Linked DNA regions of Homo sapiens: region 1 is linked to region 2. The links are contacts of gene promoters, found by promoter capture Hi-C in blood cells and fetal thymus (Javierre and others, 2016). All regions are on one chromosome and are shown on one strand. Each heading gives the region's core, a stretch centred on a gene start or on the middle of the fragment in contact. The rest is flanking DNA. Distances are from core to core; before and after follow the strand shown.

Region 1 (5,671 bases), core at 853-3,352, 600 kb before region 2:
AGTTTAAAAGCCACAGATATAAATAAATATTTTAAATAAGAATATAATATGCTTGTCTTATAGCAGGTCTATCTGTAGATGGCATTTCTCTTCATTATCACATAGTTTAAGCCAGTGCTTCCCATCATTTTAAAATCACGGTGTACACAGAAAACTGTGATAGATTATATAGCTCACCGAGGGTAAATAGAGCAGGTTGTATGGAGCAGAAGTAACCAGCCCAGAAACCTCAGCTGCTCCAGTTGGAGCCAAGCTTCCCAGGGCAAAAGGTCAGCATCAAGGCCCACGGGTAACCCATTCCTTCCTGCTCAAAGATGGAGGCATTATGCCTGAAATTATACTAAAGTGTAGAGTCAACAAACAACAGAAGGAAGACGTAAGTATACATGAAAACTAATTGCATTGATTTTTCTCTCTTTTTTTATGAGGCTCCTGGGTTTCAGGCCGGTTTAAAAAAGGATTTTCACAGACTAGAATGAGCCTGTGAGTACATAGGCAATCTCAGAGTACTTCAGGAGGCACACGTGACACAAACTCATCCTTCATTCTGAATTAATGGCCAAAGAAACGCAAATTTTGCTTAAATCTAGAGTCATTCCAGCTCAAGTTCCACCAATATTATTCTGACCCTCTTCCTCAAGGCTAGACAAGGTTGGGAATTGTCATTTCCTTTATCTTACCTTAAGCTCCACTATGAGAGAAGTGTGAAGAACTTAATAATCACCAGCACCAGAACCTAATTAAGAATGGATTTGAAAGCTATAAAATCATAGCAATATAAGAAAGGAAGAAAGATCCATTTTTATTAAAAGTACATCTTTTTAATAGAAATAAAGAACATATAGCATATGGAATGAGAATACAAAATAAGACAGAAAAAGCTGATTTTAATTGTGCTTAATTAAGAACTGTACATGTGGGATTATGAAAAAGAAAAGAATAGTTGGCTTCAATTACTTTTTGCCAAAAAACAGATAGGATGAAATGTAGCTTTTAAAGTATAAAATTAAATCATTCAAGAGGGGTTGTACTGAGGTAAATTTCATATTTTAAACTTTTGCAGCTGGTAAATAACAATGTTCAAAGGTTTTACTTAAGTTATTTCAAACTCAAATTTCGGAGATCAGGAGGAGTAATGTGTAAGAACTTTTTCCCCCAAAATATTTATGAAGCATCAACTGTGAGCAGTGCCGTATTTCCTGTCTATACTGACAGTCTAATTCAAAACCAAGATATAGTTACCATGAGTGAAACTGCTCCTGTAAACTTTATAAATTCAATCAGGGAAGAAGGGACGGGGAGAAATGAAAATAAAGCAAGCTTGCAGCACACCCAGCATTAATCATTATGTTAGATGCTCTGTGATCCATTCCTCATAGTTGTTTGCCTATTGCCTCCGAATTACATAGACCCTGTTACAAGATTACCGTTCCCCTTCACTGCTCTACAGATAAAAACTTAAAATACCTCAAAGGGAAAACATAAGTTCTATTCTTTCAAGTCCTGCAAGCCCTGTAAAAGAATGAAACTACTGACATCAGCTAGTCTGAAGGACCCCACAAGAAGCTGACTCACCAAAGAATGCAGTTTCTACATCCTCATGATGTCATCCCCCTTACCCCAAATATCAACAATCTCAATGCTCCAACCTCTCACCCTCCATGATCCCATTAAAAACCCCAGCCAAGTGCTCCTTGGGGAGACGAACTTGAGGGTCTCCTCCCATCTCCTCACTTGGTATCCGGTGAGCATTAAACTCTTTCTCTGCTGTAAACTCTGTTGTCTCAGTGTAACTGATCTGTTACTGTACAGTGGTCCTGTGTACTTGCTAGTCCTATAACAGGAAGAGGAGGAAAAAAGAAGGAAAGAAGTAGGAGAAAGAGGAGCAGGAAAAGAAAACATGTTGAGAAGTATTTACTTGCCTCACTTCAAAGAATATCACAGACATTAACAATCTTACACTCTGGAGAAAGTACTTACTCTTTGAGGTTCAAATTCTTTGTTGATAAGATGTGTACAGGAATTTCTGCTGGTGGATTCATTGTAGGAAAAGGTAGAATGCGTACTACATACTGTAAGGAAAACGGATGTGCTGCGGTCAAGAATAGGTCGAAGCAGACATCCGGTCCAGCATGACTCAGTGAGTTTGGAGCTCACTCACACAACTCAGCTCATTAGGTAACCACGCCACGTGAGGCGCATTAGTAACCAGTCACGTGAGCGCGTGCTTGATTCAGAGCCACTGTCGTCTGTAAAAGTTATAACTACACTGCTGATGCTGTACATATGGCTTATGCGCAGAGAGAGAGAAAAGCCATGTCAAAACTGTCTACGATTCCCCCAGTGTTTTTCCGGCTACCCACCACTCACCCACTGACTCCCCTCGGACCTCAGTTAGAACCTGACACATACCTTGAACAATCCTGGGCACATAGAATGTAGGTTTGTGGTTGAATACCCTCACCACCTCCATCTTAGTATATTTAAAGCTAAAGTCACAGCTTTTCTCCTTACATTAAAGCATCCTTCTCTTTTGAATTGTTGCATTCTATTTTATCTGCCCAATATTTCTTAGAGGCGATGTTTTCACTTCTTACCATCACCTCATGAGTTAAAATTTTGATACTTAACTCTTTAGTTATTGTAGTATCTACCTAATTGATGTTTTTCCTTTCTACCTTTGCAAATTGCCTGTTCCAAATATAAGTAGAAACAAGCAAGAAAGAACTCTGAAGGATAATTCATCTCAGCTGGAACCCATGGCCTCATAGGGGCTTCCTTACAATCAACTAACTGAAGGGGAAAAGCCTGAGCTTGGTCCATGGGATCAGTTGGCTGATAGGTTAGTAAAAGTATAAAATGGTATGCCATCACTCCAGCCCCACCCAGGGACTGCCTGAAGACTGGGGGTAAAGGAACATCCTCTCAATGAGCAGAACTGCAAGCAAACCTGGTTATTCATCTTGGCTGCAAAGAAGAGTAATATGAGGTAAAGATATATGGAACTGCTGGGCTTGTCTTCATGGGCAGAAGCCTGGTAGTGGCAAGACTAGAAGAGAGTAAAAATGAAATTTGTGTTGAGGCAAGTTTATGAACCTATTGGAGTAGTACAAAGGGTGTGGAGGATTGCTGGCACATTAATGCCTGTAGGAGAACATCTGCTACATAAGAAGCACTCAACAGCTAGGGAGGAAGGATGACTTATTCTGTGGATATCAGCCAACCTCCTCAACCACCTAGATTATGCACAGTGGATATATGAGCACAAAGTCAGGAATAGAGTCTATGCACAGACCCAAAGCATGGACCTCCTAATGTTGATCTAGCTACTGCTTCTACTGATTATTCTATAAAGAAAATTACATGTATCCCAGATGTAGAGTTGCATTCCTGCCCCCTGCCAGGGTAAAGACTTACAGAGCTTCTGCTCTATCCAGTGGAAGTTACTCTACCACACAAATAACTTAGATGCAATGACATATTGGCTGAGTATGAGGAAAGTCTAGAATGGGTGGTGGAGAAAAGGGATGAGAAGTATCAGCTATAGCATCAGGACCATTTGCAGCAGTGGGACCTCTACCTTTTTCCACTAACTCTTATGGATTAAATTGCATCCTCCAAAAACATATGTCAAAATCCTAATCTCCAGTGTCTTAGAATGTGACCTTACTTGGAAATACAGTTTTTGCAGATTTAATTAGTTATGATGAAATAATACTGGAGTAGGGTGGGCCCTTGATCCAATATAACTGGTGTCCTTATAAGGAAAGGGAAATGTAGACACAGAGACAGAGACGCATGGAGAGGAGAATGCCACGTGAAGACAGACACAGATGGAAGACAGCCATGTGAAGATGGAGACAGAAATTGGAGTTATGCTACCCAAGCCAAGGAATGCCTAGGAGCGGGAAAAGGAAGGAAGGATCATTCTCTGGAGGCTTCCAGAGACAGCACTTTGATTTTAAGATTTCTAGCCTCCAGAATGGAGAGAGAGTAAGCTTCTGTTTTTTTGTGTGTGGGGTGTGTGTGTGTGTGTGTGTGTGTGTCTGTGTGTCTGTGTGGCTGGGGAGGATTGAGGGTTTTTTGTTTTTTGTTTGTTTGTTTGGTTTTTTGGGGTTTTTTGGTTTTCTTATTTTGCCACTCAGCTTGCAGTAATTTGTTACAGCTGCCCCAGAAAACTAACACGCCTTCAGAATGGTTTTTTTGTCGTTGTTGTTGTTTTGCTTTTTTTGAGACGGAGTCTCACTCTGTTGCCCAGGCTGAAGTACAGTGGCACAATCTTGGCTCACTGCAACCTCTGTGTCCCGGATTCAAGCAATTCTAGAATGGAGTTCTTTTGTAGAGATTGCAGTCAGCTACATATTATAAGGCTATACGATGAGTATGTCCAACCAGCATATGAAGTGGAGCATGAAGATTTCTCATATGTCCTTTTGGAACATATTTTTTTCCAGCTATTGCTGCACCAACTGGCTGCGTGCAGGGGTACCCTTGTAGCACTTTGGGCTGTATATCTCTTACTTGCTGTCCTGGGCTTTTTTTGTTGTTCAACATGAAAATCTGAAAGTGTTCACATAGCCATGCTGTTTACGGTATACCAGGAAGTACAAGGGAGTCATTACACCCTTGGGCAATATTTGATCAATAGAAGATGGAAGCCAGTGGCTAAAATTTCCCACTCCTATGCCTAGGATAGACCATTCAGAGATGCTCTTTACACTGTTCCTCAGAGAGCCTACATGGCAACCAGCTCAATAATGCATCCTTGAATTGCGTTTATTTCTTTCCCTGTTTCTGTGTTCTCTGTCATTTCATTTTAGTTTCCTGGGATCTCTTTCCAAAGAAAACTATCAACAAGCAAGCAGCCTTTACCATCAGAAAGAACCCACGGTGAACTAGCAATGGAGTTCTGCCAGATATTTGTGACTGATTTTTTATCACTATAAGACAAGCCCTAGAATAGTACCTTGCACTTAATAGGACTCAGTAAATATATATTTGTTGAATGAATGAATGCACAATAACATTGATCCTTTAATAATTGTATGTTATATACATTGCAGTTAACTGCATATTCTACTAAGGTAATATCTTTGTAGGGATCCAGACTTTGCATTTCTTTTCCTTGCCTACATGGATATTATGTGTGGTTAAAAAATCAAGATAAGCTGTGTATGTGGAAAGTTATATAATTTTAACCCTAATATCATTATTAAAAATAAAATCAGATTAGTACTGTTTACTTGTTTTCATAGAAGCATGCAGATTGCAGGTACTCAAGTCTAAAAATGACTCCTTGCATGTGTCTTCACATTCTGCTTCTTAAAATATATTATATATATTTAAAATATATTATTAATGATTTTGCAGAGGTTGCTAGGAATGATTATATGAAACAACGCTATCTGTAAGGCTCTTTCAGAATCTAGAGATTAATTCTCTGACCCTGCATACTTGAATTCAGAGAAGAGTAGAATTTCATGACAAATGCTAACTTAAATGCCAGTTTCTAGAGGACACCATGTAAGGAAGCTCATGCTTTAGTGTATGGGATGTTTGGCTAGCTCTCTGACTTTCTAAACAAATGGAATATCTGAGAAACTGCATCAAATGATAACTGCTATGCGTGACCTCCCCGTCTCTGCCCTGCTCCTACTCATGACTAATTCCA
Region 2 (5,090 bases), core at 2,019-4,518:
TGGTGCTGGAACAACTGGATAGCCACACATAAAAGAATGAATTTGGACCACTTCCTCACATCAAACCTGAAAATTAACCCAACATAGATCAAAGACCTATATAAGATCAAAGATCTATATTAGACCTATATTAGATCAAAGTCCTATGTTAGATCAAAGACCTAATATAAGAGCTAAATAAAATAAAACTCATAGAAAAAACATAATAGTTAATCTTCGAACTTTGGATTAGTCAGTGATTTCTTAGATACAATGCAAAGCACGGATGTGATAAAAATATTGATAAATTTGGACTTCATCAAAATTAAACCTTTTTGTACATTGAAAGCCACCATTTTGACCCAGCAGTTTCACTTCTATGTATATATGTGAAATGAAAACAGGTCAACAAAAAAACTTAATTACCTAGATGTTCCTACATTATTCACAATAGCTGCAAGGTATGAACAATCCAAATATCCATCAATGGATGAACGGATCAATAAAATGTGGTATATCTTATACAAAGTAATGTTATTTGGTGGTAAGAAGGAATGAAGTACCAATACATGTTACAACATGAAGAAGCCTCAGAAACATTAAGTGAAAGAAGCCAGACCCCAAAGACCAAGCATTATATGAAATGTCTATAAAAGGCAAATCCACCGAGGCAGAAATAGACTAGTGGTTGCCTAGGGCTGCAAGTGTGACTGGGGAGTGACTACAGATGGTAAAAAGTTTCTTTTTGTGGTGATGGAAATGCTCAGGTTCAAAGATTACATTTTGATGATGGCTTTATAACCCTGAATTGTTATCAGGTGAACTATATAATTTTAACACGTGAATTTTACAGTACTTAAATTACATATGAATAAAGTTTTTTTTTTTTAATGAGGCAAAAGGTAGCGTGAAAAAGCAGGCATGGCATATAAGCAAGCTTTTTTTAAGGCTGAGTGACTTATGTGGCTGATAGAGGAAGGATAAGAGGAAAGGAAATATAGTGAAAAGGAACAGAGAGGAATAATAAAGCTGGCAAGTCACAGACAACATAATTAGACTATCAAAAGAAAATCTGGAAGAAAGGCATGGACAGGAATAAAGACCTCCTTCTAAAGCAAGGTAGGGAGAGCAACTTGATGTAGATTGAAGAGAAAAAGGAAAGAAAAATGAATGTTCATATTTGATGGCCTATGATTTTCTGGGTCATGTAGAAGGCAAAGTAACATGTTCAAGTGATGAATTTGGTAACTTTAGGATAATGATGACAGTTCAGACAACAAATACAGAGAATAAAAGAGAACACTGACTATATGAATAGAAGGATTTTAGAGACATTACGACTCAGCCGAGTTTAAATCAAAGATTGTAAGGCATTCAGTCATCAAGGTTATACATTTTTCTCCAGCAGCTCTAGCCTTCTATGAAATAGAAGCAGAAAAAAAACCCAAAACAGATGGGTTAACTACCTGTAAATCTGGATTTGAACTGGTAGAATGAAGCTTCCTGCAAATGTTGGATGTAAAAGTGCAGATCTAATCAGGTAAAATCTCAAGCATTAATTGGATATGCTTATAACAAACCGGTAAATTTTTAGAAGATGTAAAACATATCTTAGAAAAATAATTTAAATTATTAATGAGAATTAGACTAAGTCATTGAAATTTGATTTTTAAAACTTACCGAGCCTCTCTTTCATTGAACTCAGAAGTAGTGTGAATGGTAAGTCTTCCTTGTCAAATGGAATGCTACTTAGCAGCTGTCTTAGCTCGTTCCAGATGCTATAATAAAGCACCATAGACTGACTGACTGGTTTATAAACACACATTTATTTCTCACAGTTCTGGAGGCTAGAAGTCCAAGATCAGGGTGCCAGCATAGTTGGTTTCTGGTGAGGACCTTCTTCTGGTTTGCAAACTGATGTATTTTTGTATCCTCCTGTGGCAGAAAGATGGAGACAGCTCTCTGGGTCCCTTTTTTATAAGGGCACTAATCGCATTCATGCGGCCTCTATGCTATGAATTACCTCCCAAAGGCCCCATCTCCTAATACCATCACATTGGGGTTAGGATTTTAACAAATGAATTTAAGGGAAAGCACAAACATTCCGTCCACTGCAACATCTACAAAATAGGTCCTTAGGAAGTGCAGAAGTCTGGAACAGTTCTTTCCCAAGCCACAACCCTGAAAACATGGATTGCTGGGTATGCAGATTCTCCTGGGTCCCTTTCCCATAAACACCGAATTAGACACTCTGAGGATGCAGCCCAGACATTCTGTATTTTTCACCAGGCATAATGGTGATGGCTGATATTAGAATGGTGAAATTTATCCCACCTAGTAAGAATCTAAACTGAAAATGGTGATGATGCAAAAAAGATCTGTCAACCAGTTAAAAAAAAAAAAAAAAAAAGAGGGTGTGTGTTTGTCAGGAGGGATAGTCTTTAGTAGTATGGCCAAAAGCTTAAGCCTGATTTTCAGGGCTCTATTGTTGGAGTGGGTAGTTCATCAACTTCCTAAGTAATTCAAATCTTTTTCCCCCCAATATATTAATATATTGGTGATTCCAAGAAAGAGGGTTTAATTTATTTAATGCCTGGGAAAACTAAAAGAACTACAAACAGATGTGAAAGGAAGAGAATAACCACATCTCACAGGAAGCAAAATTTCTGTCAAAAGTTACTGTTCTTTCCCTGTCTAGGTTCTTTGTCCCTGAAAGGTAGATCCGCAAACTAAATCCCTCAATAACGTTGCCTAAACAGGACTGGGATCATAGAATGTCCAACACTAACATGAGTTCATAATGGCACAACGAACTTAAAATGTTACTATTCATGTTTTAATTATGATTGCAGTCTTACGTTGAAGGTATCTCCGCCGTCCTTAAACATAAAAAAAAAAAAAGGAAATACAAGCTGCAAAAGTTTTATGTAATGCACTCCACCCTCTTTTTTCCCCAAGCCAACACACACCCTTCAAACTTTTTGACAGTTATTTTCAGACCCCTCCTAGGCTCCCGAACTCCATGCAACTCCAGCAGTCTCCCCTGGGCCATTTTTAGCCTCTGCTCTGACCTGGCGGGAGGCTGGGTGTCCACCCTTTCCCCTGCAGTCCTGAAAGTCCGGTCCGAGCGCGGACGGGGCGGGGAGGGGCTGGGCGGGCCAGGCCAGCTCCATTGGCGCCAGGCGGGTGGGGGAATGCGCTGAGAGGACCCGTCCAGCTTGCTTAAAAGCCATCAGTTTTCTGACCCCGCATCGGTTCCAGGAAGAATACACCTATGTGACAAGCTAAGTTCTGCCTCATTTTGCATTTAGAAGCCACAAGAAAAACTTTTCGAAAACTTTTGTCCGTCTTTTGCTCCCCCGACGCGTGGTTTCCTGATGGTCCGTCCCCGGGCAGAGAGAGGGACGCCCCCTCCTCCTCCCCGCCTCTTGTGAGGCGCGCGGAGCCGCCTCCCCTGGGTCAGGTCTGATGGGCCGGTGGGCGCGCTAGTGGTGGCCGCCACCGCCGAAACCGTCGACCTCCTGGGCCCCAGTTCCGCGTCCAGCCCCGCGGCAGCATGGACTACCTGACGACGTTCACCGAGAAGAGTGGGCGCCTTCTGCGGGGCACGGCCAACCGCCTGTTGGGGTTCGGGGGCGGCGGCGAAGCCCGGCAGGTGCGCTTCGAAGATTACCTGAGGGAGCCAGCCCAGGGGGACCTCGGGTGCGGGTCCCCGCCCCACCGGCCCCCGGCGCCGTCCAGCCCGGAGGGACCTGGTGAGCCCACCTTTCTTTCGCCTCCCGCGCGGCCGACCTGGGCTGAGGGCTGTGGGGAGGCGGCGGTCGTGGCGCCGGGCGGGGGTCGCTGCCCGGCTCTGGCAGGTGTGCCTGGGCCGGGGCGGGCAACGTGGCCGGGGTGGCGGCCGCCGGGGGCGAGGAAGGAAGGACTCGTTCGGCTCTGGGGAGGGAAGACTTTCAGCTGCGTGCCAGCTCTTCCTGCTCTGCTCTTCCTGCTTTCCTCACCTAGACTTGATTTTCTTTCCCCGCCAAGTATTTCAAGGGGACGATCCATTCTCTCTTTCCCTCCCACTGGGAGGTGAAGACTGAACCAGTTATGACGTCCGTGTTTTCAGTCTTGGATTCTTGAAGAGCGCTGTGCCTGCTTTGGTTTTGGTTTGGGTCAGTCTTTCCTTAATATTTCTCAGTTGTTAGGATTCACTTCCTAACCGAAAAATAAAAAGCCAGATACTTCTTTGTAAAATAAAACACTTCATTAACATTGGAAGCTAGTTGACATTTTGCGTCGTGTACTTTTTGAACGGCTGCACGTTGTCTTGTGGTGGCAGAACCTAGAAACTTTCTCAGTTCCTGTTTATTTTGTGTTGTGTTGGCCGATTTTTTTCACCACAGTGGCTTTGTACCATTCTTTAAAACAGTCATTTGTAGCGACATGATATTGATAACTTAAAGAATTTTTGAAAGTGCTGCTGAACAGTTTTAGCATAATGCATAGGGTAACTTCCAGTGTCCTTGGCTTCGTTTAACAGGTAGCAGACATCCTAGCCATGTCTGATTTTTATTTTTGTTAATTGCTTTAATATTTGAGGGTTATGAAAATAAATGAGCATTAGAGAGTTTAGAAAATAGAGATAGGCACAAAGTGTGTAAAATCTGTTTATAACTCCACATCGTGCCAGTCATTTTATTTTAAATTTTATCTTACTTTATTTTTGTAGAGATGGAGTCTCGCTGTGTTGCCCAGGCTGGTCTTAACTCTTGGCCTCAAGTGATCCTCCTGCCTAGGCCTTCCCAAGTGCTGGGATTACAGGCCTGAACCACCATGCTGGGCCCTGCCAGTTGTTTTAAAGCAGTAAAACAGTGAGGACATTTTTGATCTATGTGTGTAGGTATGTAATTTAAGCTTTGAAGAAATATTAAAGTCTCATTTTAGCATAGCCCTTTAAAATAAATTTTCCTTACTTTACATAAAATATTTTTTATCTTTAGAAATGCTGTTTATGGAATTAGGAAATGAAAAGGGGAGGGGAATACTTTTGTTTCTGCTCTGAAGGACGTTAACCAAATGCAGAATCCTCTTAAAGGTGGGACCAGGCATAGGAAAGGGACTTTAAA

Evidence for each region. The method cuts DNA at HindIII sites, captures the fragments that hold promoters and counts their contacts. A CHiCAGO score of 5 or more calls a contact.
Region 1: a contact is called between the fragment with the promoter of ZFPM2-AS1 here and the fragment with the promoter of OXR1-AS1 in region 2, in 2 of 17 cell types (endothelial precursors and M1 macrophages). The highest score is 8.9, in endothelial precursors.

Annotation. Positions count from the first base shown.
Region 1 is chr8:106,058,401-106,064,071 of GRCh38, forward strand. ZFPM2-AS1 (ZFPM2 antisense RNA 1) reads right to left here and starts at 2,103. Exons shown (of 5, transcript NR_125797.1): 1 at 1,981-2,103. RefSeq lists an enhancer at 1,598-2,797. The HindIII fragment of the contact is 2,678 bases long and covers 1,319-3,996 here.
Region 2 is chr8:106,654,452-106,659,541 of GRCh38, forward strand. OXR1-AS1 (OXR1 antisense RNA 1) reads right to left here and starts at 3,269. Exons shown (of 3, transcript XR_007061059.1): 1 at 1,660-3,269. All of the region lies in intron 3 of OXR1 (oxidation resistance 1), which reads left to right. RefSeq lists an enhancer at 3,160-3,369 and silencers at 3,440-3,689, 3,730-3,879. The HindIII fragment of the contact is 2,439 bases long and covers 2,438-4,876 here.